7 separate regions of the Homo sapiens genome follow, and all the other regions are linked to region 4. Evidence: promoter capture Hi-C in 16 types of primary human blood cells and fetal thymus (Javierre and others, 2016). All regions are on one chromosome and are shown on one strand. The core of a region is centred on a gene start or on the middle of the fragment in contact, and the rest is flanking DNA. Distances in the headings are between cores, read along the strand shown. Region 1 has its middle 83 kb from the start of LINC02099. Region 2 has its middle 68 kb from the start of LINC02209. Region 3 overlaps LINC02099 (long intergenic non-protein coding RNA 2099). Region 4 holds the start of DUSP4 (dual specificity phosphatase 4). Region 5 has its middle 87 kb from the start of LINC02948. Region 6 has its middle 44 kb from the start of LINC00589. Region 7 has its middle 60 kb from the start of LINC02099.

What was found. Contacts are between HindIII fragments. The CHiCAGO score rates a contact against its expected background, and 5 or more counts as called.
Region 1: a fragment that was not itself captured here is called in contact with the fragment with the promoter of DUSP4 in region 4 in 2 of 17 cell types (M2 macrophages and M0 macrophages); the score reaches 5.7 in M2 macrophages.
Region 2: a fragment that was not itself captured here is called in contact with the fragment with the promoter of DUSP4 in region 4 in 1 of 17 cell types (M2 macrophages); the score reaches 5.2 in M2 macrophages.
Region 3: a contact is called between a fragment that was not itself captured here and the fragment with the promoter of DUSP4 in region 4, in 1 of 17 cell types (M1 macrophages). The highest score is 6.8, in M1 macrophages.
Region 5: a contact is called between a fragment that was not itself captured here and the fragment with the promoter of DUSP4 in region 4, in 8 of 17 cell types (M2 macrophages, non-activated CD4 T cells, activated CD4 T cells and 5 more). The highest score is 8.8, in M2 macrophages.
Region 6: a contact is called between a fragment that was not itself captured here and the fragment with the promoter of DUSP4 in region 4, in 11 of 17 cell types (activated CD4 T cells, M2 macrophages, naive CD4 T cells and 8 more). The highest score is 9.4, in activated CD4 T cells.
Region 7: a contact is called between a fragment that was not itself captured here and the fragment with the promoter of DUSP4 in region 4, in 2 of 17 cell types (naive CD4 T cells and total CD4 T cells). The highest score is 5.9, in naive CD4 T cells.

The regions. Positions count from the first base shown.
Region 1 is chr8:29,828,929-29,832,892 of GRCh38, forward strand. No RefSeq gene overlaps it. Among named protein-coding and RNA genes, the nearest start is that of LINC02099, 83 kb to the left of the region's middle. The HindIII fragment of the contact is 5,163 bases long and covers 1-3,964 here.
Region 2 is chr8:29,851,693-29,855,233 of GRCh38, forward strand. No RefSeq gene overlaps it. Among named protein-coding and RNA genes, the nearest start is that of LINC02209, 68 kb to the right of the region's middle. RefSeq lists a silencer at 1,461-1,755. The HindIII fragment of the contact is 1,359 bases long and covers 1,290-2,648 here.
Region 3 is chr8:29,788,813-29,792,511 of GRCh38, forward strand. LINC02099 (long intergenic non-protein coding RNA 2099) reads left to right here. Exons shown (of 4, transcript NR_125815.1): 2 at 1,520-1,635; 3 at 2,283-3,069. Among named protein-coding and RNA genes, the nearest start is that of LINC02099, 42 kb to the left of the region's middle. The HindIII fragment of the contact is 1,023 bases long and covers 1,527-2,549 here.
Region 4 is chr8:29,349,404-29,353,063 of GRCh38, forward strand. It overlaps DUSP4 (dual specificity phosphatase 4), which reads right to left and starts at 1,281. Exons shown (of 4, transcript NM_001394.7): 1 at 443-1,281. The coding sequence starts at 875. It overlaps LOC124901924 (a long non-coding RNA gene), which reads left to right and starts at 1,571. Exons shown (of 2, transcript XR_007060876.1): 1 at 1,571-2,131. RefSeq lists enhancers at 279-780, 309-458, 781-1,280, 1,979-2,048, 2,089-2,198 and silencers at 1,139-1,458, 1,649-1,788. The HindIII fragment of the contact is 21,736 bases long and covers 1-3,660 here.
Region 5 is chr8:29,647,210-29,651,001 of GRCh38, forward strand. No RefSeq gene overlaps it. Among named protein-coding and RNA genes, the nearest start is that of LINC02948, 87 kb to the left of the region's middle. The HindIII fragment of the contact is 1,406 bases long and covers 1,111-2,516 here.
Region 6 is chr8:29,701,892-29,705,955 of GRCh38, forward strand. No RefSeq gene overlaps it. Among named protein-coding and RNA genes, the nearest start is that of LINC00589, 44 kb to the right of the region's middle. The HindIII fragment of the contact is 891 bases long and covers 1,059-1,949 here.
Region 7 is chr8:29,806,444-29,810,230 of GRCh38, forward strand. No RefSeq gene overlaps it. Among named protein-coding and RNA genes, the nearest start is that of LINC02099, 60 kb to the left of the region's middle. The HindIII fragment of the contact is 3,973 bases long and covers 1-3,787 here.

The DNA.
Region 1 (3,964 bases), core at 800-3,299, 480 kb after region 4:
CCACCTAGAGCCCTGTGTATGCTTAGAAGACTCCAACTCATCTTTCAAGAACCTGCAGAATGTGACCTTTCTTGAGATCCCTGCCTCAATTTCCCCAGAACTATTTAGTTTGAATCCATTTTTACCATGATGCTTTATAAAGATTTGTTTTTATTTCTACCTCCCCCACTAGACAGTGATCATCTCAAAAGCAAGGATGGTTCTCATTCATCTTTATACCACCAATTATTGGCATAGTGCTTAACAAATGCCTTTTGGATAGAGAGCTCAGAGTGAATAAATAGAAAAGGGAAGGAAAAATGAAAAAAGGGACAAAGGGAGGAGGAAAAAACTGGGAGAGTTTCATTTTTCAGCTTAACAAGATTATTTCTTAAATCAGATGAGATGATTCAGGCTGGGTTGTACTAGCAGGGAGAAAAGGGTAATTACATTTTAAATCTGCTTTGAATACTATTGATAAGACTCTACATTTTATGGGCTTTACTGACAAGAAAAATTAAAAAAAACCTGGTAAAAGAGTCAAAGAACGAATTTAAAATGAGATGATCTTGTTGTAGATAATATGCTACCCTGCAACCTTAGCTGCCTGCCTGCTTGAAGATTCTCAGTCCTTTGCTTGTCCGTTCCAGTGAAGCAGGATAGAAAAGAACTGTGCAATTTTGCTCACCACTTTGATCCCTCGGGGTGCTGGGAGACTCCCCTATTGAAGGAATCTGAGGGATCCTGACAGGTTTCCAAACACCTACCTTGCTACTGTCAAGATGGGCCCAGACCCTCCTGGAGAGATGAAATGAGGCAATAGAGTGGTTTGGAAGACCATACTAAAACTCTTTTCAAGGGGTGGCATGTGGAATGCCACAGCCCCTCCAATTTGAGAGCTTTGTCCTTCTGTATGCCTGAATGAGTTTTCCTCTTCTCACATCCAATTGGAATGAGGGTGCTCCAGAAGGCATTTCTACTCACAAGTCCTGCCATAAACACAGAGATGGCTCTGCATTAGCTTCTAGAGATGCTAAGGAGAATAGAGACTTTCTACCACCTTGATGTGTAACCATGGAGCAAGGGTCCAACTTGAGAGGAAGTAAAAGTCACTGGCTCACCTTGAGATTCATGAGTGAGGGTTTGGGGATGTGATAGTTAATTTTATGGATCAACTTGCTGGGCCACGTGGTGCCCAGATGTCAGGTCAAACATTACAGTGGGTGTTTCTGTGAGGGTGTTTTAGATGAGATTCCCATCTAAATTGGTGGACTTTGAGTAAAGCAGTTGTGGGTGGTCCTCATCCAATCAGCTGAATGCCTGAATAGAACAAAAACACTAGTGTCCCCAAGCAAGAGGGAATTTTCCAGCGGACTGCCTTCAGACTCCATCTGCAATATGAGTTCTTCCTGATTCTATAGTAGACTGCTTTCAGACTGGAACTGGAATGTTGGCTCTCCCATATCTGCACCCAGCAGAATTTGGACTTGCCAGCCTCCATAATCATGTTATCCAATTCCTTATAATAAATCTCTTTCTACACATATAACAGAACCAATTTCCTATTGGTTCTGTTTCTTGGAGAGCCCTAATATGGAGGCAGAGGGAGAGTGAATGATAGACTCACTGGCTGTCAATTTGCTGAGAAACTGAATATACAAATAGACAACAGCCAGACTATATATCAAAATAGAACCCTAACCCAGTCTACAGCAACTATTCCAGAAACCTAATCCATTATCTACAATAACCAGCCCAGGAAGACAGCTTGCTATCTATAAGTCAGATTGTAACAGATTAGACCACTATCTCTAGAAACCATCCCAGGAAGCCAGACAATAATCCCTGTAACAATTGGCCCCAAACAGCCAAGACTTGGTTTATATCTGACAGCTTCCCTAATAATTGTCCCCACTTCCAACTCAGGACCAACCAGAGAGCCCAGTATGCTCCCCTAACCAATTATATAGATTGTCACACTATGAGATGGCCTGTCCACAGCTTTTCCATGCTAACAGCCTCCAATCAGGGCACACCTGAAGCCTTGCCTTTTATCCACTATAAATGATTTCCCACTCCGTGGCCTGCCTTTGAGTCTCTGTCAAAAGCAAATGATGATGGTTGTTTCTCTTGATATAGTAAGCTCTAAATAAATAGTCTGTGCTTGTTTTCATTTGATTGATCTTCATTTACTTCCACATTACCTAAAAATGAGCTCTTGGAAACAACTCATCCAAGGGAATAAAGAGTTTGACCCCAGAGTTTGATTCAAGGACAGTGGAGCAGCCTCAGAAGGAAAAGATGATCCAGCATTCCCAGTGTCTGTCCCACAGATTGTCTTCCTGGGCAGCCCTCAAGAGAAGGGAACTACAGTAAAAGAGGATGAGCAAAGTGAAATCTTTCTCATGCTACCATCTCTCTCAGACTTCAAGAGTACAAGGGAACAGCATCACTATTGCCAACAACTTTCGCAGCAACTTTAACACTGACATGGGATGAAATCCTCAGGTGTCAGGATCCCCAGAGGTAGGACCCTTGCAGTTCACAGCAGATGCAGGAGAAATCTCCAAGCAGAGCAAAGACAGAGAAGATGGCAGATGCTACGGGTAACTAGGTCCTCCAAGCCTCATGAAATGCCAGAAAAATGGAGTAGGACCTTGAGGGAATCTTTCAGGTAGAATAGGAGTGAGCAAAGTCAAAGAAAGCCTGTTTGCTGGTGATTATTGTAATCTTGGGCTTATCCCAGGCTGGCTTAGACAAGGAATCACAGGCTATACACAGAATTTTAGCAATTGCTTAGCTAAATTCATTGTAAAATCTCTCTTCTATATGTCTACTTTTCTATATTCCCCTTTTATCTGAATTTCCAATCTTGGTATAAGTTTCACAGAGTGATAAATGTAGGTCAGTCGTGGTACCATGTCAAACAAGAGAGACATTTATGTGTTTCATTGCTTATTAATGAAATAACACCATGACAGATGATACCTGTTTCAGAGAAAGTGTCATAGGAGTCAGCCCACCACAGTAGTATGTGAGCTCAACAGTCCCATCAACAAGTGAGTCAGGCAAGATATAAATGTTCATTTATTTGCATGCATGCTTGTCAAAGTTGATGAATATTCTCATTTAAAACAAAACAAAACTAAAAACAAAATTGTTGTATAGCAACCAGTTAGGACAGTTTTCTGAAATTGCTGAAATACCCAATTTAAATGAATATCTGTTTATAGATGTATTTCTTTTTCATATCATTTCCTTCATGGGTTTGATGGAGGGCATGTTGTTTTAAAATGTAGGTTTTATTATTCAGGTATGGTGAGGTCAACAGATGAGAAGGCAATGCCATTGATGAGAGTTTGTTACTCACAGTTCCCAAGACTGGGACGGCATAAAGTGCCAGGAGTGGGGGTTTCCACTGGTCACGCACCAGGGTCAGTCAGGAGGCAGAGGGAATGATGAGGAAAATGCAGGCAACACCCTTTATTGTGGTTTCCACTGGAAGGAATGGGAAAGGCAAGGCAAGCAGGCTTAGAATCGGCTAATTTGAGTAACTTTAGCAGGTTTTAGGGAATACAAACTGTCTCTGGTTGCCTGTTACCTGGTCCTGGGTGATTAAAGCAAGGGAATCTTTGCCCTAAGTGTGAAAGCCCTGTAGAGGAGGTGGTGGGGTGTGGTCTTTGGGTTGGCTGGTTTGCATATGAAATGCATGCCACAGGCCAGTCCTTCACTACCTCTAGGAATTGACCAGCAAGCAGGGGCAGTTTCTCCAGGGTCAGCAGATGCCAGAGCATTAAAAACACATGGCTAATACATGTGTGTTTTTACTCTCCAGTCCATAAGCCTCTGAAGAACAAAATTTCATCAAAGGAGCCTCTTCGCTGTTCTATAATATTACATATTTAGGGGGCTGTGATATTTATTTATGCATTAAGATGCTAGCAAGACTTCAAGGAACTTCAGCCTAATTCAAGCACACACTACT
Region 2 (3,541 bases), core at 719-3,218, 500 kb after region 4:
ATTTTGGCATAGAGTTTGGAAATAACATCTGACAAAGCAACAGCCCATGGTTAACCCTGTGTCTTGGTAGGTATGCATTTCAAAGGAACAGGGCAAGTTCTGGATAATATTTCTTCTAGAGACTTCCTTCATGATGTTGCAGGGAGTCCGTGACCACATTGATGTCTGCCTCTAGGTCACTGTCACTGCTACACTAACATCCAGGCCTGTTTCATCTTTACTTATCCCTTAAACAAAATGCAATCCAAAAAATCCTGGGGTTCTTCAGTAAGACCATGTTTGTTTTTAGTCGAGTTCACATCCAGATGTAAAAGGCTATGGCTTTTTTTGCCTTCAACATTCTCATTACTAGTCAGAAGTGTAAATTAATTCATGCTTAAAATAGGAAATGGCCTGACTGCCCACAACTCTCTGAGTGATTCATGAATCAATTGGACGGGGTTCTCTCTAATCTGTCCACACTCTCTCCCTGTTCTGTTTGTAACACTTTCTCTGCAGTGTTAAAAGTTAAGTCTGTGACCATTAACAGCATCCACTAGAGACGGATCCTTCTGCTCTGGACTCATCAGAATGGTGCCCCCACCAGACAAACACACAAGCCCCAGGCCTCACCCACACTTAACCAATAAGGCAGGAACCTCAGAGACAAGTACTTTGCTGAGCTTGACAGAGTCCCAGCAGAAGTAAAATGCTGGTGATTTATATGGAGTCCCAGAGTTCATCCAAATATTAATTGGTATTAGAATTACAGCATTTTAGAGCTACAAGGGAGCTTATTGATGATGTAGTTAAACATCACAGAGTTCCTGAAGAGACTCAGGGAAAATGAGTGAATTAATTAAGAGACTTTGGCTTCTGTGAGCCAGAGAAGGGCCTGAGCTCAGGTGGGCAGCTCAACTCTTGCTGGGCAACTGCAAGGGCTGTTCAGGCCAGAAAAGCCTGAGGGCCTGGGAGAGACTAGCTCAGAATCGTGTCATATTTAGTAGGCAGAATAAATGTCCTCCTCCGAGACCACTGAATAAAAATCAAGTCATTTTCCCAGAACCTTCCTTCTCTGGTCACTTCCTCAAAATGAAGAATTGCCTGTGGCCAGGAGAAACTGTAGGTGGAGAGATGGAACCCTGTGGGAAAGTTCCTGTCAGTTCTCAACCTGGAGAGGTCATTAAGGCTCCACCAGCCTCAGAAACAGGAAGGAGGATAATAAGCACCAATACTTGTACAGGACTTAGAATGTACCAGACGCCCTATAAGTGCTTCACATACGTGACCCTACGTACCCTCTTCTTCCAAGCTTGGGTTTGAGCCCAGCAGTCTGTCTCCGGGGGCTGCTCCTAACCCCTTCAGGTCCCATATCACCTGAATGTTGAGTTTTAGGAAAGGACTGAGGTGACTCACATACAGGATATGCCACAGCCTGGCACCTCAACAAACATGGAATCTGTCACCATTACTGCTGCTATTGCTTTTTTTCTTCTCCAGTTCGGTAAATGTTAATGGCAGGGGCATAACCTCATCCCTGGGGGATCTCTCCTCATTGGCTTACTTTGTTCTCATCTCAAACCTTTCGGAGGCTGGAATCAGGACCTATCCATTCAAATTCCAGATGTGTTACTTGCGCCTAATTGCAGAACTCCTCCCTTTGCTCTGACGCAAACTTAAAGAGCAGGGAGGCTGAGGTTCTGAAAGAACTAAACCTTTGAAATTCCAATGAGAAGATTAAAATGTGAAACCACTTAAGGGCCTGCACTTTGACAGACTGTCTGTCGGTGTGACTCAGCCATCTGATCTTCCTGGGCCTGAAGGAAAAGACATTTTTGTCCTTCCCTCAGGTAGATAACTCACTTCCTTGAAACACGTCACTGTTGTGGAAAAGTGGGTTTGAAGAAAATCATTCTTGACATCTCTATTTGGCAGCAGTGTTTCTACAGTGCTACTATTCATCCTTGATGCAAAATTGTGTGTTTTGATCTTGGCCCTACCCTCAATGACAAAATTTCGAAGAGATAGAAAACTAGGCTAGAGTTTCCCTAGTTACGAGATTTGCAAATGTGTAATGGAGTTGAATCTTCAAGGCGTGCTCTTCCATCAAGCTACATAACCCCAAAGGCACCATGTCTGGGAAGCCACCCACAGTGATTTTACACACTTGTCGTAATATGAATGTGAGCACACACCGTGCACCAGTCACCCTTTTGCAATGAAATACAGGATTACAATTAAATAACATACTTTTATGAAACACAAATGATCACCACTTGCTTTTTAAATGAGAAATAACAAAAGTTGAGACCAGAAGTAAAGAACTGCCGTATGTAAGCACCAGTTAGGGGCTACTTCCTTTGAAGCCTCAAGGGCAGCCAGTGAGAGCAGACAGAACAGAAACTTTGAAGCCAGACAGACTAGAGTTTCAATCCTGAAGCAGATCAATTTCTCCGCGCGACCTCAGGCAAATCACTGGATTTCTCTGAGCTGAAGTTTCCTCATCTATTTAAATAATCCTTTTCTGGGGTCATCACAAGGCAAGATCACATGTCCTCACACAGGGTGAACAATTCATCAACAGTGCTTTCCCTTCTTTCTTGGAATTCAAATGGACTAGGGTGAGGGAGTGGTCACTGTTATTTGCATAGGCATGGGGGGAGGCAAGAAGCTTGGGGGAAAGGGAGAATGTGCAGTGTGCTCTGCCCCACTGAGGGAAGGTGTATTAGCCTGTTCTCATGCTGCTATAAAGGACTGCCCAAGACTGGATGATTTATAAAGGAAAGAGGTTTAATTGACTCACAGTTCCGCATGGCTCAGGAGGCCTCAGGAAACTTACAATCATGGCAGAAGGGGAAGCAAACATATCCTTTGACGGCAGGAAGAAGTGCCAAGCAAAAGGGGGAAAAGCCCTTTATAAAACCATCAGATCTTGTGAGAACTCACTCACTATCACGAGAACAGCATGAGGGTAACTGCCCCCATGGTTCAATGACCTCCCACCAGGACCCTCCCACGACACATGGGGATTATGGGAAGTACAATTCAAGATGAAATTTGGGTGGAAACACAGCCAAACCACACCAGAAGGGAAATCTCAGAAGAACCCAGAATTTGGGCTCCCCTGGACTTTGTCCCTGGTGCAATCCTTCTACACTTTAAACTGCAGAGCATCCTATCCAAGGACTCCTTTCTGAGGCTCCTCCTGCCCAGGACATCTGAGTGTCCCTGAACACTCTCCTCTCAGATCACTGCAGCTCTCAGGGTCCTGGCTCCTCTTTTTCTTCTTGTGGGTTTAAAAAAAACAATTCTAAAGAAGAACAGAGGTTTTCTGTTTTATCTTCACACATAACCAGAGAAAGACTTGCTATGGTTTGAGTATTTGATGCCTCCAAACCTCATAGTGAAATCTGATCCCCAATGTTGGAGGTAAGGCCTGATGGGGGTGTTTGGGTCATGGAAGCAGATTCCTCATGAATAGCTTGGTGATGTCCTATGGTCATAAGTGAGTTCTCGCTCAATTAGTTCCGGTGAGAGCTGGTTGTTAAAAAGAGCCTGGCCC
Region 3 (3,699 bases), core at 788-3,287, 440 kb after region 4:
GGAATGGACAGCATCTTCAATGAATGGTGCTGAGAAAACTGGATATCTACCTGCTAAAGAACCAACTGGGTCCTTACCTTATCTTACCTTACCTTATACTATATGTACAAATCAATTCAAATGGAATAAAGACATAAAACTATAAAGCTCCTAGAAGAAAACATAGGGCAAGAGCTTTATAACATTGCATTTGTCAATGATTTCTTGGATATGACACCAAAAGCACAAGCAACAAAAGAAAAAATAGATAAACTGAACTTCACTGAAATTGAAGACTTTGTGCCCTAAAGGACCCTTGCAAGAGAGTGAAAAGGCAACCCAAAGAATGGGAGAAAGTATTTGCAAATAACTTTATCTGGTAAGGAATTAATATCTAGAATATATAAAGAGGTCCTATAATTAAAACAAATGAGCAGCCCAGTTCAAACCTGGTCAAAGGCTCTGAATAGATATTCCTCCAAAGAAGATATACAAATGGCTAATAAGTACCAAAAGATGTGCAATGTCACTAGCCACTAGGGACATGCAAATCAAAACCACAACAAGATACGATTTCACACTTATAGGATTGCCATTACCAAAAAACAAAAAATTTAAAAAAAAAACATATTGGTAAGGATGTAAAGACATTGGAAGCTTTGTACATTTCTGATGGGAAGGTAAAATGGTGCAGTCACTGTGAAAACACTTTGGTAGTTCCCCAAAAAATTAAACAGAATTACTATATGATCCAGCAGTTTCACTCGTAGGTATATATCCAAAAGAAATGAAGAGAGAGAATCAAACAGACGCCAATATTCACAGCAGTATTATTCACCATAGCCAAAATGTGGAAACAACTCAGATGTCCACCAACAGATGACTGAATAAACAGAATATGGTATATACATAGAATGGAATATTATTCAAGCCTAAAAAGGAATAAAGTTCTGACACATGCTACTACATGAATGAACCACAAACATTATGCTAAGTGAAATAAGCCAGATATAAAAGGACAAATATTATATGAATCTACTTACATGAGGTACCTAGAACGGGCGAATCCATATAGACAGAGGGTCGAATAGAGATTACCAGGGGCTGGAGGGAGGAAGGAATGGGGGTTAATGTTCAATAGGTGCAGAGTTTCTGTTTGGGATGATTAAAAGTTCTGGAGATAGATGACTATGACGTTTGCACAAAAATGTAAATGTACTCAATGTCATTGAATTGTACACTTAAAAGTGTTTAAAATGGTAAATGTTATGTATATTTTACCACAAGAAATAAAATATAGACTGGAGGTCCTCATGTCATGGAAAATTGTTTTTCTGTCACTTAGTATGTAAAGTGGATGTGTTCTATTTACTGAAGAGTCTTCGAGATCAGGGAGGAAAGACAGAATTCATAGAAAAGAGACAGCACCTGAATTTTCCAGTGCCCCCTGCAGCCCTTACTCATGCTCATCAATCTAAGGTTTTCTGCAATCAATTTTCTTCTTTCCCCCTTTCAAATGCTTTTCATGATGGCAAATAAGGATGTCAAGCTTCAGCACCCTTGCATCTCTGGATAAATGAAATGTCACCCCAGCTGCCGTCCTTGTTCAGATCTGTGCAATAAAGAGCAAAGCATAAAACCAAGTCAAGGCTTTGAGTAAGTCTGGGGAAATAAAAGACACCAGTCCTTAGGGGCTGGAGGAGGGGAAACAGCCGAGAGAGGGGGGCGGGAGGGGAAGCAAGAAGTCGTCCAGATGATGAAAGCGTTTTATAACTTGATGTGAAATGTCCAGATGGTGGTAGTTACATGTATGTTTACTTGAGGATTATTTATAACATACACTTGTATGTAATATTTTGAATGTGTCCTAGAGCTTGTGAAAAAATTGCCTTTAAAACGTATAATTAACAAGATTGTTGACAAACTGAGTGTAATAAATGAGGAAGACAAACTCATTGAGGAAGTTCCCAATCTTCCTGTCTGGATGACTTTTCTGTCTCTCAAAACTGCTGCCTGTTAACTTGCTCTTAGCAGTTAGTTCTTCACAATGGAAATGACATCAGTTCAAAGTGTTAGTCTTTACCTTTCACTCAATCTAACTTATCTCAGTGCAGTCCCTAGGGAAAGGATGAACCCTAAACTAAGAGCCAAAATATTACTGAAGTGATAGACTTAAATTTCCTACTCTCACGACTGTTGGAGCAGAAAATTTCACAATACTTTGTAATAAAAGCAAAAAGTGTAAATCTTAAAAAAAAAAAAAAAAAGTACTCCAATAATGGCCTTTTCCCTCTGCCTTGCAGGGGAGTGACCTACAAAATGCATAATGTGAAACAATGCAAAAGCGAAAGGTGCAAAATCCCCATCAAAGAGCTGGAGGCTGACAGATGCGCCAGTGATAATTCCCATCTTCCAACACAGGAGCACAGCTTCCATTTTCCATAACAGAACAACAGCCAGAGCAGCTGGAAGGCAGGGCCGCATCCCAGACTTCCACCAACAATGGGATGAGACTTGACATCTGGAATCACAACCACAACAGACCTGAGAGACCCACCAGCTTGATGACAAGCTTCTTCTTTCAAAGAAAGGTATCAGTCTGGGGGACCTAGTGCTGCAAACCATGACAAATTAAGTGTGGCATCCCTCACTTGCATAATGGAACTCAGTGATATTTTTTAATTAACAAGAGTTATTTTTATGTAAGCTTCTCTCATTCCTCCACTGTGCGTGCTCGGGGGCTGGTGGTGAGGAAAAAGAAAACAGCTGTGCGGGAAGCATCAAGAAAAGGCAAGTCATGAAGTCTTAGAGATCAGTGACATGTAAGAAAAAGAGTGAGGAGAAAAATATTCCTACTAAAGTTTTCCATTTGTTTACCTTCCTTGTCACATAGACTTCCAAGAGTTAGAAGTCTAGGATTTGATCTCCAAATCTTCCTGGCAGATTACTCATCTTCATTTCATTCATATAGTCCAGGGGTTTGTACAAAGGAAGATGCCAGTTCTTCCCCAATCATAACTAAGATATCAAGAGATATTCTTTTGAAATGTAACAAAGGAGATCTGAAGTTCATCTGAAAAAAATAAATGGGTAAGTATACTGACAAATATTTTGGCAAAATAAAAGTAATGAGGAGATACTAGCATTAGCCTCATCAGGCATTAAAATATATTATAAAGTTATAATATGTAAAACAGCATGGGACTGGCACTGAAACTGACAGTTCAACTGAAGAGAATAGACAAGTTAGAAGTAAGTCTTGATGTATGTAAGAATTTAATAAATTTGAAAGATGGTAAGGAAAGATAGGATTGCTTAAAAAATGGTTTTGGTGCAATTGATTAACTTTTCATAAACTGGGTCAGCTCTTACTAGATATTGCTCTGAGACACTCACCCACCCCAAGTGTCCCCCAGCTCTCTGAGCTTCCCAGCTATATGACATCAGAGCTCAGGAAACTCTGGTCCTCTCCATCCTGGTCTCCCACCATTTTCTCTGCAGCCCCCAATCTTCCTGAGATCACAGCTCCCATGGGCACCATTACCCTCTACTGCCAGCATCACTCTTGGGCAAGGAAAACTCCACCCTCCCATGAGCTTCTTACGACAAAGTGTGGTCACAGGCCTCCATAACTCCCATAGAACACCCGAGATCAGGAAATCTGCAAGTATCTGGGATGTCTTTATTATAGTCAGTGGTTGCCAGAGGTTAGTGGGGAGG
Region 4 (3,660 bases), core at 31-2,530:
CCTCTTCACCTTTTCTCCACCTCTGGGATTCTCCCGGTCCGGCTCAGTGTAGGGCCCCAGCACGCCAAACCAACAGGCCTATCTTGTCCCCACGCGCCCCGTGGTACTTGGAAACTGTTCCCGGGACTCAAGATGGACCGCGCAGAGGAGTCGCTTCATCCTCGAGGCTAGGACCGTTAATGTCAATAAACGGGGCCTCGCTAGGACGGTGCGGAATTGCAGGTGACCGGAGAAACCCGTCCGCACTTTCCCTGAGGACTTGAACCTCGCACTTGCACAGAAACCTTGCAAACCCCTACACACCAACACACACAAAGGGGCGCGCGGGGATCCCCGCAACCACGAATCACGCCGGGGACTCCTTCCCGTGCCAATAAGGCGCAGGCCGCCAAGACCCCCTCCATCTCCCCGACTCCAGCTAGCGCCCGGAGCCCTCGTTTACCTTTGAGCAGGCAGATGTCGGTGCGCTCGGCGTTGCGGCGCAGCGCCTGCACCACCAGCGACACGGTGCTGTCCTCGCGGAGGCTCTCGGCGCGCGGGCTGCGCTCGTCGTAGACGATGACCGCCGAGTAGAGGCCGGAGCGCAAGCGGGCGCGTACCTCCTCCTCGGCGGGCAGGATCTGCTCCAGGCTCACGGAGCCCTTAGCCCGCCGCCGCACGATGGTGTTACAGCGCACGTTGACCGAACCTAGGATGTAGCCCGCGCTGTGCGCCAGGAACGGTCTGCAGTCCAGCAGCAGGCACTTGCCGCCGCTCGGCAGCCCCAGGGTGCCGTGGCTGCCGCTGCCGCCCGCGCCGCCGCCATTCTCGTCCCGGTTCATCAGCCTTTTGAGCACACTGCAGTCCATCTCCCGCAGCTCCTCCATCGTCACCATGGTCGCCGGGAACCGAGGCGGCTGGGCGCGCGAGGAAGAGAAGAGAACCCGGGCCGCCTAGGCTGCAGAAAGGGGCGGGCGAGAGCTAAGAAGGGACGCCTGCAGAAGTGGCCGCAAACTTGGTCCTCAAGGGCTCCCGCGGGAGAGCCTCTTCTTCCCTGTCCCCTTCCTCCCGCAGCCTCGCGGTCACATAGCAGTCGGAGCGGCCTCGGGCGCCCAGCCGGGCGGCGCGCAGAGCGGAGGGGGAGGCGCCGGTGGAGGAGAGTGTGTTTACGAGAGAGGACCGCGGACTCTTTTCGGCGACGGCCTCCCGTGTATTTTTGCCGGTCGCGCGGCTCCTGTCGCCACTGGCGCCAGCGCTGCCCTGCCTACGCTCCTCCGGCGCTCAGCGCACTGCCCCAGCCAGAGTTTTCTCCTCGGCTTAGAGGTTTATTAATGCTCCTCCGCGCTCCCGGGGGAGGGGGCGCTAGGTACTACCCCGCCAGGCCCCGCCCCGTTCCATTCCGGGCCCCGCGCCGTCCCCCGCCCCCCGCGCTGTCCCCCGCCCCCCGCGCTGACTCCCCGCCCCCTCCGGGCCCCTCCTCCCACCCCCTCCCCGGAGCTTGAATGGAGCGCGGCCGCTGGCTCCCGGTCACGGGAACTCGACGTCACAAAGAGCGGAGTAAACAGGGCGCCGGGTGCTCGCCATCAGGCCCATTCATAAAACCGAGGCCGAGAGGAAGAGGGAGGCGGCCTCCGACCCGCCGCCAGCGGCGGGCAGCGCCCGGACTTTGTGAATGGAGCGCGCGGCGCCTTTCGCCGTCTACCCGCGGGCCCAGCCTGCGCCGCGCCTCCAGCCCGACACCGGCACCTGTGCCGCCGCTGCACCCCGCCGCTAGGCGGGCGGCGCCAAAGGAAATAGCCGGCTGAGGAGGCCAGGGCTCGGGTTTGAGCTTTCATCCCTTGGCACCTTCGCGCTTCCCCGCGTGACAGCCCCGTAGGTTTTTCCCGGTTACCCAAGTGGAGAGGGGACCGGAGCGCTGCTGCCCACCCAGCGGGGCCTGACACCTCCTAGCCCCAGACTCCCCGTGCGCTTTCGGCCCGGCCAGTCCTTTCTGAATATGCGATTCCTGAGACGTTAGCGTATGCATTAGCGTGATCGATTTTCATCTAAAGCCATTAAATCAGTTTTATAGCTTCCCCAAGAACGTGGGCAACCCCCTGCTTGGAAGATGAAAGAGAAAGTCCTCCCGCCCGAAGCCCAGGATCGGAGTGAGGTGTGGGGTTTGTTGCTTTACTACCCAAAGGGAGGCATTAATTGCCGGAATGGTGTTCCGAGGGAGGAGAGCAGGCTGCGCTCCTGTCCACGCTTCCTAAAAGATGTTTATTTAACCCTGGTCGGGGGAAAAACAAGGTTTTCGGGTTTGGGAAACGTCTTCACCCTATCTTGCATAGTTGTGAATTATCCTTTCAGGAAATGACAGGGTCCACATTTGTTGCGGAGCTGGACCCTGGAAAATGTACCCGCAAAGAATGACCTTTTGAAAGGACTTCAGCAGCTCTGGGTCCGATTCATGTTTCTGGGCATCCCTTTTTCCTGGTCACGTAGCAGCCCTCCCCATCCCCATTTCTCTTTTGCATTTAATTTCCCAGAGGCGGCTTTTGGCTGGGGGTTTGTGCACGCACGCGGTGGGGACCGTGCAGAAGCCAAAAATCATTCGCCCGACATCTTGCCAAGTCTTGTTAGTGAGAATTAATCACAGAGCAAGGGAGTTACAGGACTCGCTCGCAGTTTCGGAGGCTGCAGAGTAGCGTATTCCATTCCGGGGCGCGCGTGGAAGCCCGACCCAGGCAGCGAGGGCACCGGTACCCGCCGGGTCTCTCCCGCCCAAGCTCACCCTCTCCCCATGCCTTTGTTCCGGGCGGAGCGGCTTTCCCGAGCTCTCACCTCCGGTCCCGGGGGCCATCCCTGCACTCCCCGACCGGAGCTCGGCGGAGCCTCCACTTCCGAGACCTTCGACTGGCCTCGTCCCCCACTGGGCCCCGAATGCCTCGACCCCCGGGCCCTACTCGGATGAGCTGTAGGGGCACCGCTTGGGCAAGGTGATATTTCCTTTTGCTCCGGGCTCCAAAATGGCTTACGATGGCACTGCACGGATCCTTTCTCTTTTTAAAATTTAGTATTTTATTCATCATGGATTTTTTGCATTTTTTTTTCTTTTAAAGAGGCATTGCATCAAGATATTTCTTTTGATTACTGACTTTTCGGCGCCCTTCTTAAATGTTGCGCTCAAGGCTTGTGCTCACCCTAGTCCAGGCCCTGGAAGGAGCCACAACTGTGGACTGACCGAGGCTGCCCGGTGGCAGGACCCTGGGCGTCGGGCACTCCGGGTGGGAGATCAGTGGTCAAAGCCGCACGGCGTGGCCTCCCTGTGGGGAGGGCAAAAGGTGTCTGAGTCCAGTTTCCCATTCTGCTGAATGGGACTGTGGGGGTCTATCTAATAACTCGCTTTCGATAAGGAGCAAGGAGCCCCAGGGGCCCCGACAGTCCAAGGCTGATTTTGCTTTCCCGGGTTGCTCTCCAGCAGCTCAGAAATCCGCCGCCTGCCAGGACCCAGGGCCGGAGCTCTCCCGGCGCAAGTAAACACTGATTCCTTTACAAAGGCTTTAACAAGACATTTCTGGGAAAAGCCTCTCAGGAGGCAGGTCCGGGCCAATTTCACGCGTGTCGCAGGAGCTGGGGAGACGTCCCTGGGGCGCACGGGTCGCGCTCTGGGCCAGCTTTTGTCTACCCTGTTCTGGGGTC
Region 5 (3,792 bases), core at 564-3,063, 300 kb after region 4:
TTAGAAATGTGTGTTGATGGAGTTGTTACCAGCCTATCACATCTGTAAAACGATGGATGCTTTTAAAACCTTTTCCTAGACATGCTCTCATTTGGGCTGTGAGAAAGGTTCTGAAGCAGCATTTTTCCTGTGTATATGAAACAACAGAAACTCAGGGACGTAAAGAGGCTTAACCACAGTCAGGTGAAAACAAGTGGCAAGGGCAGGTAAACCCTGCTGTCATGGCCAGCCATGGACCCCAGCACTGCAGAGTGAGAGACGCCTATCAGCAGGGGGCAGCATTGAGAAGACGGTGCTTGGGCGATGGAGAATGGGGCCACCTGGTGAAGAATGGCTGCCTGCTAAGGTGTCTCCAAAGTGGGGCTTGTTGCCTCAGAGCATGATCAGGCTTTGGGATCAGATCCTCCCCTATTGGGTTGTATTAGTCCGTTGTTTTCACACTGCTGACATACCCGAGACTGGGCAATTTACAAAAGAAAGAGGTTTAACTGGACTTACAGTTCCACGTGACTGGGAAAGCCTCACAATCATGGTGGATGCAAGGAAGAGCAAGTCACATCTTACATGGATGGCAGCAGGCAACGAGAGGGAGCTTGTGCAGGGGAATTCTTCTTTTTAAAACCATCAGATCTTGTGAGACTTATTCGCTGTCATGAAAACGGCACAGGAAAGACTTGCCCCCATGATTCAATTACCTCCCACTGAGTCCCTCCCACCACACGTGGGAATTCAAGATGGGGTTTGGGTGGGGGCACAGCCAAACCATATCACAGGTTCATAGACTTCCTAAGATATCGTTTCAACAACTCACTTCACAGAGGTGGACACTGAAGCCACACCATCCATGTATTTATAGCAAGAATGATCTCTTTCCCCAGTGACAGGACCACTCATGTCCATCCAGAGCTGATGAACTACACAGGAAGTGGAAGCTAAGGACAGGCTGCTGGAGCTGCCAGGGTGGAAAGGAGACTTGGACTTGAGCATAAATCCCCTGTGAAGATTTCTAGCTGTCTGCCTTTGATGGGGCTCCAAGTCTCATTTCTTCACTGTGCTCAAACCAGCTCTCAGCAGTCCTGTGTACATGCTCATACCCCATTCCTAGAATCAAGCTTTAAAATCAAGATTTTAAAAATAACACACACCAGGTCATCAATTGTTGAAGTTTTGTTGTGTTTTGTTTTTTAAATGTTTTAGTGACAAGGTCTCGCTCTGTCACCCAGGCTGGAGTGCAGTGGCACGATCATAACTCACTGTAGCTCACTTCTGGGCTTGAGGGGGTCCTCCTGCCTCAGTCTCTTTAGTAGCTAGGACTATGGGCACGTACCATCACACCTGGCTAATTAAAAAAAAATTTTTGTAGAGATGAGCTCTCTCTATGTTGCCGAGGCTGGTCTTCAACTCCTTACCTCAAGTGATCCTCCCACTTTGGCCTTCCAAAATACTAGGATTACCAGTGTGAGCCACCACACCTGGCCTGGTCATTGAAGTTTATGAAGATTACTTGCAACCATGGAATCAGATCCAGCTTGGAGAAACATTTTATTAAAATTCCCTGTGAAATACTTCTACATCCTACCCTATACCTCTGGTGATTAGAGCTACTAGCGTCCTTCACATACTGTATTCCTTTCACCTGGGCAGTGCTGAATGTACCAGGCTATTCTCCCCTTTGAATTATATATTCTAAGATACTACCCCTCACCTTTTCAATGACCCATTCTTTCCTTAAGTGCATTAATATTATTCTGATTCCAGTTCAGTCCAGGCTATTTGGAGATTTATTGGCGCTACTCTCAAGTTTAAGGGACAGCAATGTGTCTAAGGGTGGGGGATTCAAGTATAAGAGAGCTTGAGGCAGCAAAGGAGCCCAAGAGAATCTGGGATTTCTCCTACAGTCCGTTAGATTATGTTCTGGAGACAAACACTAATAAGTGACTCTATATTCCTTGACATGTGATTTTCTTGACATACTCATTTTCTGTTTGAACAATTTCTAATTTCGCTTTGAACAGAGCAGAAGCCATATTGCTAGAGAGCTGTCCGCCCCACCCCCTACTCTTGCAATCCCCACCAATCCCCATCTTCCTCACCACCAGCAAATTTCTCCTAGGGCCCTGCTGTAGCACACAGTGATGCCTTCTCTTCTTTCTGACCCATAGCTCACTTGGTTTGACCTTGCTTTGACCTTGCCACAACTTCTTCGGGCCTCAGTCTCCCATCTGCAGGAGGGGGTCTTAGACCTGACAGTCTCCAACATTTCTGCCAACTCTAGATTCTCAGAAAGATACTCTCAGGAAAAAGAACCCCAAATTAAGCAAATTGGCATTGACTTTTGTTTCTGTTCTTTCTCTTTATTCTGTAGCTGTCAAGTCTTTAGGTATTTGAAACCAAGTGCAATGGGTTCCCTGTGGGTTTAATTTCAGTTGCTCTCTGTGTATTTTTTATTATGCACTTACCGAGGGACCAGTCTCTGTAAGTGTCCCCGAGGCACAAGTGTCCTTTTAGTTCTCAGAAGCTTGGCAACCCACATAAAATCTTCTAATTAAAAATGTGCATTTCAAGAAAAATTTGAAGTCACACCCTCATACGGTGGAAGAAAGGAGCTCTGTTAAACTCTCCACGCACACAAGAATGAATCTCATTGTTAGAAAGAGATTTTCTACTCTACCAATCCTTGCTCCAGATTTCAGAATCCACCTCAGGCATTGAAGCTTCAGATTATCAGCCCCATGGGTCATAAATACTGACCTCCATTTACCATCTGTTAGCTCCATCACACAGAGACTCAATTCAGTACACATATCCTGAGAACCTACTACATGTCCGACCTAATGCTCAGAGTCACTGAGGACCCAAGGTAGTACTTTGCAAGGGCTCAGTACTTAGACTCTGAGTGAGTCAGCTGTGGTTTGGATCCAGGTTCTAGAGTGCATTTGCTCCATGACCTCTTGGATCCTCAGTGACTTCATCTGCAAAACAGATGCAACCTGCCAGGTGAGGTTGTTGTGATGTGTTCATGAGGTAATACATGCAAAGCATCAGCTCAATGTCTGATCCCTAGTAAGCCCTTAACAAATGATACCTATGATAATGATCAAAAAAGGGAAGATGACAGATTCATTTATTCAGCAGGCATTAACCAAGAGCCTTTTATGTTCCACACACAATGCTGGACAGTGAATATGCGTTGGTAAACAAAGCAGGCATAGTAGCTGTTCTCATGGAACTTGCAATCTCATAGGAGAAACAGTCTCTATAAAACAAACAAATCTATAAATATATAATGACAAGTTGTGGTAGGTGATATGAGGAAAATGAACTGATGCCTGAAAGTGCTTGGGAAGTTAGTGTGGGCAGAAGCATGTGGCCTTGGAAAAGAAGACAGAGGTTTCACCACAGCACAGGAAATACTCTTTTGAAAGGAGGTGGTCAGGGCAGTTTTTACAGGACAGAAGAAGGAGCCCAGGAGAAAGAAACACATTTATCAGAAGAAACTTAGTTTTGTTCCATTATTGGCTTATAATATTTTAAAGTTTGAGCATTTACCAAAAATGATCCAGCCCAAATCTTTTATTTTAAATATGGGTAAACTGAGGCATGGAGCATGAGTTGCCACCAGTCATATAGTTAGTTAATGAAAGAGCAGGCCTTAGAACTCTAGGGTTTTGGACTTCTGATTTATCTTCCTATCTCTTATTTCTTCTTAAATATATCAGAACATCCAGGGGTTTTTCTTTAAGGATGTTAGAAAGTAGTATCAAGGTGCCTTCCTCCCATCACTAATAATGG
Region 6 (4,064 bases), core at 254-2,753, 350 kb after region 4:
AAGAGACTGGCAGCATTGTGCCCCTGCTTTAGGGATCTATTGAACTTTGAACTTGAGAAAGATGATTTAGGGTATCTGGCAAAAGAAATTTCTAAGCAGCAAAGTGTTCAAGGTGTGATCTGGCTGCTTCTAAAAGCCTATGCTCATCTGCATAAGCAAAGAGATAATCTAAAACTGGAACTTACATTTAAAAGAGAAGAAGAACATAAAAGTTTGGAAAATTTGCAGCCTGACCATGTGGTAGAAAAGAAAAATCCATTTTCTGGGGAAGAATTCAAGCTCAAGCCAGCTGCAGAAATTTGCATAAGCAAACAGGGACCAAATGTTAATAGCCAAGACAATGGCAAAAATGCCTCAGAGGCATTTCAGAGACCTTTGCAGCAGCCCCTCACATCATAGACCTGGAGACCTAGAAGGAAAAAAAAATGGTTTCATGGTCTAGGCCTAGGGCCTCACAGTTCTGTGCAGCTTCAGAACATGGCACGCTACATCCCTGTCACTCTAGCTCCAGCAGTGGCTAAAAGTGGCCAAGGTACAGCTCAAGCCATTTCTTCAGAGGGTGCTTCAGAGCGTGCAAGACCCAAGCCTTGGCAGTTTCCATGTGGTGTTAAGCCTACAGGTGCACAGAGTGTGAGAGTTGAGGTTTGGGAGCCTCCACCTAGATTTCAGAGGATGTATCGAAATGCCTGATATCCAGGCAGAAGTCTGCTGCAGGAGCAGAGCCCTCATGGAGAACCTCTACTAAGGCAGCACAGAGGGAAAATGTGCAGAGGGAAAATGTGGGGCTGCAGCCCCCACACAGAGTCCCCACTGGGGCAGTGCCTATTGGAGCTCTGAGAAGAGGGCCACTGTCCTCCAGACCCCAGAATTGTAGATCCACCCAACACCTTGCACCATGCACCTGGAAAAGTTGCATGCACTCACCGCCAGCTTATGAAAGCAGCCACAGGGGATGTACCCTGCAAAGCCACAGGGGAAGAGCTGCCCAAAGCCTTGAGGGTTCAGTCTTTGCATCAGCATGGCCCAGATGTGAGACATGGAGTCAAAGGAGGTTTTGAAGCTTTAAGGTTTAACGACTGCCCTGCTGTATTTTGGACTTGCATAGGGCTGTAGTCCCTTTGTTTTGGCCAATTTCTTCCTTTTGGAACCAGAGCATTTACCCAATACCTGTACCCCCCTTGTATCTTGGCAATAACTAACTTGTCTTTGATTTTACAGACCCATAGATGGAAGGGACTTGCCTTGTCTCTGGTGAGACTTTAGACTTGGACTTTTGAGTTAATGCTGGAATGAGTTAAGACTTTGGGGGACTGTTGGGAAGGTATGATTTTGTTTTGAAATGTGAAAAGGATGTGAGATTTGGGAGGGGCCAGAGGCAGAATGGTATAGTTTGGCTCTGTTTCTAAAACCAAATCTCATGTTGAATCATAATCTCCATGTGTTGGAGGAGGAGCCTGGTAGGAAGTGATTGAATCATGGGGGCAGACTTTCCCCTTGCTGTTCTTGTAATAGCGAGTGAGTTCTCATGAGGTCTGGTTGTTTGAAAGTGTGTAGTACTTCCCTCTTTGCTCTCTCTCTCTCTCTCAATCACTGGCCATGTGAAGATGTGCTTGCTTCCCCTTCACCTTCCACCATGATTTTAAGTTTCCTGAGGTCTCCCCAGCCATGCCTCCTGTACAGCCTGTGGAACTATGAGTCAATTAAACCTCTTTTCTTCATAAATTACCCAGTCTCACGTAGTTCTTTATAGCAGTGCGAGAATGGACTTATATGGCACTTAGACGTTTAGATCATTTCTCATTCTCTAAAGGTGAATAAAAGTCCTCTACCTCTGGCAGAAGACCAGCTGTTTATTCTGTGAAGAGGTAGGTCACAAGAAGCCTATGAACTAGGGTTATCAGCTACAGGTGAAGGCATGGGTAACTTAATAAAATAGGGAGATTAATCAAAGCTTAAATACTAAAATTGACAGCCCCTGCCGAGACTCTTAACCTCCAGGGATGAGGCTGTGTGTTAATCTGTTCTTGCATTACTATAAAGAAACACTGATGCTGGGTAGTTTATAAAGAAAAGACACTTAATTGGCTCATGGTTCTGCAGGCTGTAAAGGAAGCATAGCAGCATCTGCTCAGCTTCACTCATTGTGGAAGGTGAAGGGGAAGCTGACACTTCATATGGCTTGAGAAGGTGGAAGACAGAGAGGGGAGAGGTGCTACACACTTTTAAACAACCAGATCTCATGAGAACTTAGTCACTATCATGAGAAAAGCAAGGGGGAAATCTGCTCCCATGATCAAGTCACCTCTCACCAGGCCCCTCCTCCAACACGGGGGATTACAGTTTGACATAAGATTTGGGCAGGGACACAGACCCAAACCATATCAAGTTGTAAGAGCTTCTCTAAGGAAGCTGACTAACCCCATAAAAAGAGACTGAAAGACTCTGACATTTGAGATTCTCCAATTGTCTTAGTTTATTCAGGCTGCTATATCAAAATACCTTAAACTGGGTAATTTATAAAGAACAGAAATGTATTGCTTACAGTTCTGGAGGCTGAGAAGTCCAAGATCAAGGCACTAGCAGATTCAGTGTCTGGTGAGGACCCACTCCTCACAGATGGTGCCTTGTATGTGTCCTCACATGGCAAAAGGGCAAGGCAGCTCTCTCAGGCCTCTTTTATTTTTATTTATTCATTTTTATTTCAATAGTTTTCAGGGTGCAGGTAGTTTTTGGTTACATGGATAAGTTCTTCAGTAGTGATTTCTAAGATAAGGGGGCACCCATCACCTGAGCAGTGTACACCATATCCAATGTGTAGTCTTTTATCCCCCACCCCCCTCCCACTTTTCTCCCTGAGTTCCCAAAGTCCATTACAACATTCTTATGCCTTTGCATCCTCATGGCTTAGCTCCTACTTGTAAGTAAGAAAATGTAATATTTGGGTTTCCATTCCTGAGTTACTTCACTTAGAATAATGGCCTCTAGCTCCATCCAAGTTGCTGCAAAGGCCATTATTTCATTCCGTTTTATGGCTGAGTAGTACTTCATGGTGTACATATACCACATTTTCTTTATCCACTTATTAGTTGATGTGCATTGGTTGGTTCCATATTTTTGCAATTGGTAATCGTGCGCTATAGACATGCATGTGCAGCTGTCTTTTTCGTATAATGACTTATTTTCCTCTGGGTAGATACCTAGTAGTAGGATTTAAGGATTCTCCGTATTGTTTTCCTTAGTGGTTGTACTAGTTTACATTCCCACCAGCAGTGTAAAAGTGTTCTCTTTTCATCACATCCACATCAATAGCTATCATTTTTTAATTTTTAAATTGTGACCATTTTTGCAGGAATAAGATGGTAGGGGCCAGGCGCAGTGGCTCACGCCTGTAATCCCAGCACTTTAGGAGGCCAAGGTGGGTGGATCACGAGGTCAGGAGATCGAGACCATCCTGGCTAACATGGTGAAACCCCATCTCTACTAAAAAAATACAAAAAAATTAGCCAGGCGTGGTGGCAGGCGCCTGTAGTCCCAGCTACTTGGGAAGCTGAGGCAGGAGAATGGCATGAACCCAGGAGGCAGATCTTGCAGTGAGCGGAGATTGAGCCACTGCCCTCCAGCCTGTGTGACTGAGTGAGACTCTGTCTCAAAAAAAAAAAAAAAAAAAAAAGTTGGTAGGTATCTCATTGTGGCTTTTTTTTTTTTTTTTTTGGAGATGGAGTCTTGGTCACCTAGGCTAGGATACAGTGGCACGATCTTGGCTCACTGCAACCTCTGCCTCCCGAGTTCAAGTGATTCTCCAGCCTCAGCCTCCCAAGTAGCTGAGATTACAGGCACCCGCCACCATACCAACTAATTTTTGTATTTTTAGTAGAGATAGAGTTTCACCATGTTGGCCAGGCTGGTCTCAAACTCCTGATCTCAGGCAATCTGCCTGTCTCAGTCTCCGAGAAAGTGCTGGTATTACAGGCATGAGCCACTGTGCCCAGTCTCATTGTGGTTTTAATTTGCATTTCCCTGATAATTAGTGATGAGCATTTTTTCATATATGTGTTGGCTGTTTG
Region 7 (3,787 bases), core at 604-3,103, 460 kb after region 4:
CACTATGAATACTACTTTAAATGCTTTGCTTTTTAGGCCACATGGGGTTTTCAGGGGTGTGTTGAGGCAGACTCTAACCTCTGTCTCTAACCTCTGCAAGACGTGGGAACCCTTTCTGGAGCTGTCTCAACTGTGGTGTCTTCAGTCAGGAAGTGGGGATGACATCACCACATCTTAAATGTGGGCAGATTAAATAAGATGATGGGTATGAAGCCTAGCACATCACAGGTGCTCAATGCATGTTGGTTCTCTCCTCCTTACCTCCTTTCTCCTCCAAATCATAGACTTGATGTGTCGGCATCAGCACAGCCCTAGAACAATGAAAAAAATACAAAGAACAACAAGAACCTATTCAGTGTTTTTCACCTTGAATGATGTGAGTGGAAGACAAGGGAGACTGACATGTTAGTGAGAGAAATAAGATGGATGGACACTAAATGACGCCTGTTTGGACTGACAGTAGCCCATTCACACATTTCTCCAAAAAGGACTGATTATATTAGATGTGCAGCTCTTCTATCCCCTTTTCAAAAGAAAAAAAAAGAAAGGCTTAACAATTCTAGAGAGAGGCTATCAAAATCTGCCTTTACTGCTTATTTTCATGATCTCATGCATATTCCTCATCGTCCAGTATTATTTTATACAGATATAAATGTCTGGCTCCAACTATCAAAACAAGCCTGCTACCACTTGGGGGTTAAAACATGCAGGCTCTGGGCTCTCTGCAGAAAGGACTTTTTAAAAATTGTCAGATGCTTCCGTGAGGCAGGGCTGTGCGTGCCTGTGTGGTCTGAGCAGGCTGGCAATAGGAGGGCTCCCCTTCACAGAAACCCCCAGAGCGCAATCTTGGGGGACACATCGGGAGGCAGCCAGGCATGGGGATTTTCCAGCCTGCCTTCCCCGCCCTGCCTGTGACAACTCAGCTCATGCATCAGGCAGCGAATCCCATTCACGAAGCTGTCAGTGACTGCTGAATTCATTGAGAGACTCGGAACCCATCTCGCCGAGGTTCAACTGTGGGTTAATCCCAGCTAACCTAAATCATTGTTCCCTGAACACAAAGGAATGTGGAATTCTGTGCTGGGGCTGTGTGTCAGCACGGCTTCCTTGCTAGGTAGAAATATATTCAGCCTCAAGCGAGAGAGAATATATGAATATGTGAGTAGCTGGGCAGCTACGCTTCTCCCTCCAGCCAGAGGCTTCCATTTACTGCCGCCCCCAGGGCATCCAGAGGCATGGTTTGGACCACAAAATCCTGTTCTGTAAACAAATGAATCTCACAAGGGTCAGTTTTATTTTTTTCATGCTCCACTTCCAAAATCTACAACTGTAGGATGTTTGCTGTCTTCCCCTTCTACCATAAAGACAGCCACCAGTAGGGGAGGGTATGTGTAGGGGAGACATTGCTGTTTTGGGGCCATCCATTTAGAAAGCATTTGAGGTTACAGTGTCCCTTCATGAGGCACAACTCTGCAAGGACCAGTTCCATAGCATAGTGAGATTAATATGCATATTAGAATCTGTACATAATCTTCACACGCAGTAATTGCAGTCATAGGCTCTAGACATAAAGAAACATGCATTTTATAATAGTACTGGATCAATAAAAAAAACCCAGGAGTTAACATTTAGCTCACAAATTGAAGAAAATATTAAATTCATTGAGAAATAGGCAAACCATAAGGCTGTAAAATGGTCCATTATAGTCAGAAAACTCATCTGCATTGTGAGAGCGCTGAGTACAAGACCTCACCATAAATCTACAAAAGAAAGGCTACTCTTCCAGACTCAGAAGGAGAGAAGGGAACAAAAATCACATTAGCAATGTATATTGCTCCCAGATTACAAAATTAGGGTTTATAGGGAAAAATTCAGCCTGCAGTAATGGTCAGTAAAAATGACCGGTTTTATAGAACCGGAACTTGTAAAGATAAAGGAGAAAAGGCAGCAGGAAAAACATTAAAAAGACTCCCACAGAAACCTGTCCAGAAATAGAAATTCAGAGGACTTCCTGCCCTTTAATAAAATAAGCTCAATTGAGATGAAGCAGAATTATGGATGAAGCAAGGCAAATTATTTGATCAAACTAAGAAATTTTTTTTTAATAGTCATTCAGGAAAGAGCAAAAACCACTACAGTTATCTACCATGGATAGAGGTTGTTCAGAGCTGGTAAAGTAATTAAATCTGTCACCAGTCACCAGGCACGGTGGCTCATGTCTGTAATGCCAGCATTTTAGGAGGCTGAGGTGGGCAGATCACCCGAGGTCAGGAGTTTGAGACCAGCCTCGCCAGCATGGTGAAACTCCACCTCTACGAAAATACAAAAATTAGCTGAGCTTATTGGTGCATGCCTATAGTCCCAGCTACTCTGGAGGCTGAGGCATAAGAATCATTTGAACCCAGGAGGCGAAAGTTACAGTTTCGCCTTGATTGTATCAGCCTGGGCGATAGAGCGAGACTCCATCTCAACAAACAAACAAACAAACAAACAAAAACTGTTGCCAGAAGCTCACCAACTTGCATGCTGTGGCTTGTACCAATGGGTAGGTGCAGCTATGTAGCTAAGCTACACTTCAAGACTTCAACTGCAAATGTATGATAATAAATGGATTAAGCCAATAAAGTTTTATAAGTGCAAACCTAAGAATATATTCTTTAATGGCTGCTATGAAATATGCTGGAATAGGGCCAGAATATTAACACACATTCTGGCCAACACTTCAGACGTTTGGTTATTTAAGAGAAGTAATAGAGGCAGGGAGTTCCCCATCCGAGCTGTCTTCACTGCATTCACACCCACAGTCGTGAATGAAGGATCACTGTGAACCCAGCATTGCATCTAATGCTCCAGACACAAAGGTGGGAAGTTTCTTAAGATGCTCACAGTTAACTAGCACAAAAAAAAATTTTTTTTCAATCAATGCATGATGTGTAATAGGAGGCTGTGAGGGAAAGCAGGCTTGGGAATGACTTCTGTAAGAGGCTGGAAATCCTCTTTGCATCAAAGATAGCCATGTAGCCAAGCTATGGCCCTTAAGACAAAGTCAGAAATTTAGTTTTGTTTTAGGGGGTCTGGGATTGGGGGCTTCTTTGAAAGTTTTTTGTGATTTAAAAGGAATGACTTAACTGCTGCAAAACCCCCCCGCAGTCACTCTTTTTTTTTTTTTTCTATCTTTTCTCTTTTTGGCTTACGTAGAGATGTGAGCAGGCACCATAGCAGCTGTCTTGCAACCATGAGTAAAAGGCTAAGGAAATTGCAGAAATAACCCTGGCACCAGTATGTCTGCATTCTAATGTCACAGTAACCCCGACTGCTAAGCCAACACCAGTACCTGCCACCTACTGATGTCTTGTTATAGACAAGAAAAAAATCTACCCAGGTGTGTTTAGACCACAGTGGTTGGTGCAGCCAAATGCATTCCTAACTGACACATTTTCTAAGGAGTCTATCTCATGCTGTAACTCCACTAGTCAAATGTTGACACTGGTGCCTTATTGCTGATGAAGTCCAAACTTGTTTGCCTTTATTGTTAGTCTGACTTCTCCCTTCCTTTCAGCATTACCACCCCTGTTCCCAACATGAGACTCTCCAGTGGAGCCAGGATGGCCTCTTCCCTCTTGTTCCAGCTAGCAAATTAAATTTTCCTGCTGGAAACTCCTGTAGCCCTTGAAGAGTTGCACAATGATACACTTCTCTGTTTCCACCTGGTCCCCAGTGCTGAGCACTTTCTGAGGGCCAGAACTAGAGCACATGTTTACTTTTCCATGTCTCCCATGATAACTGG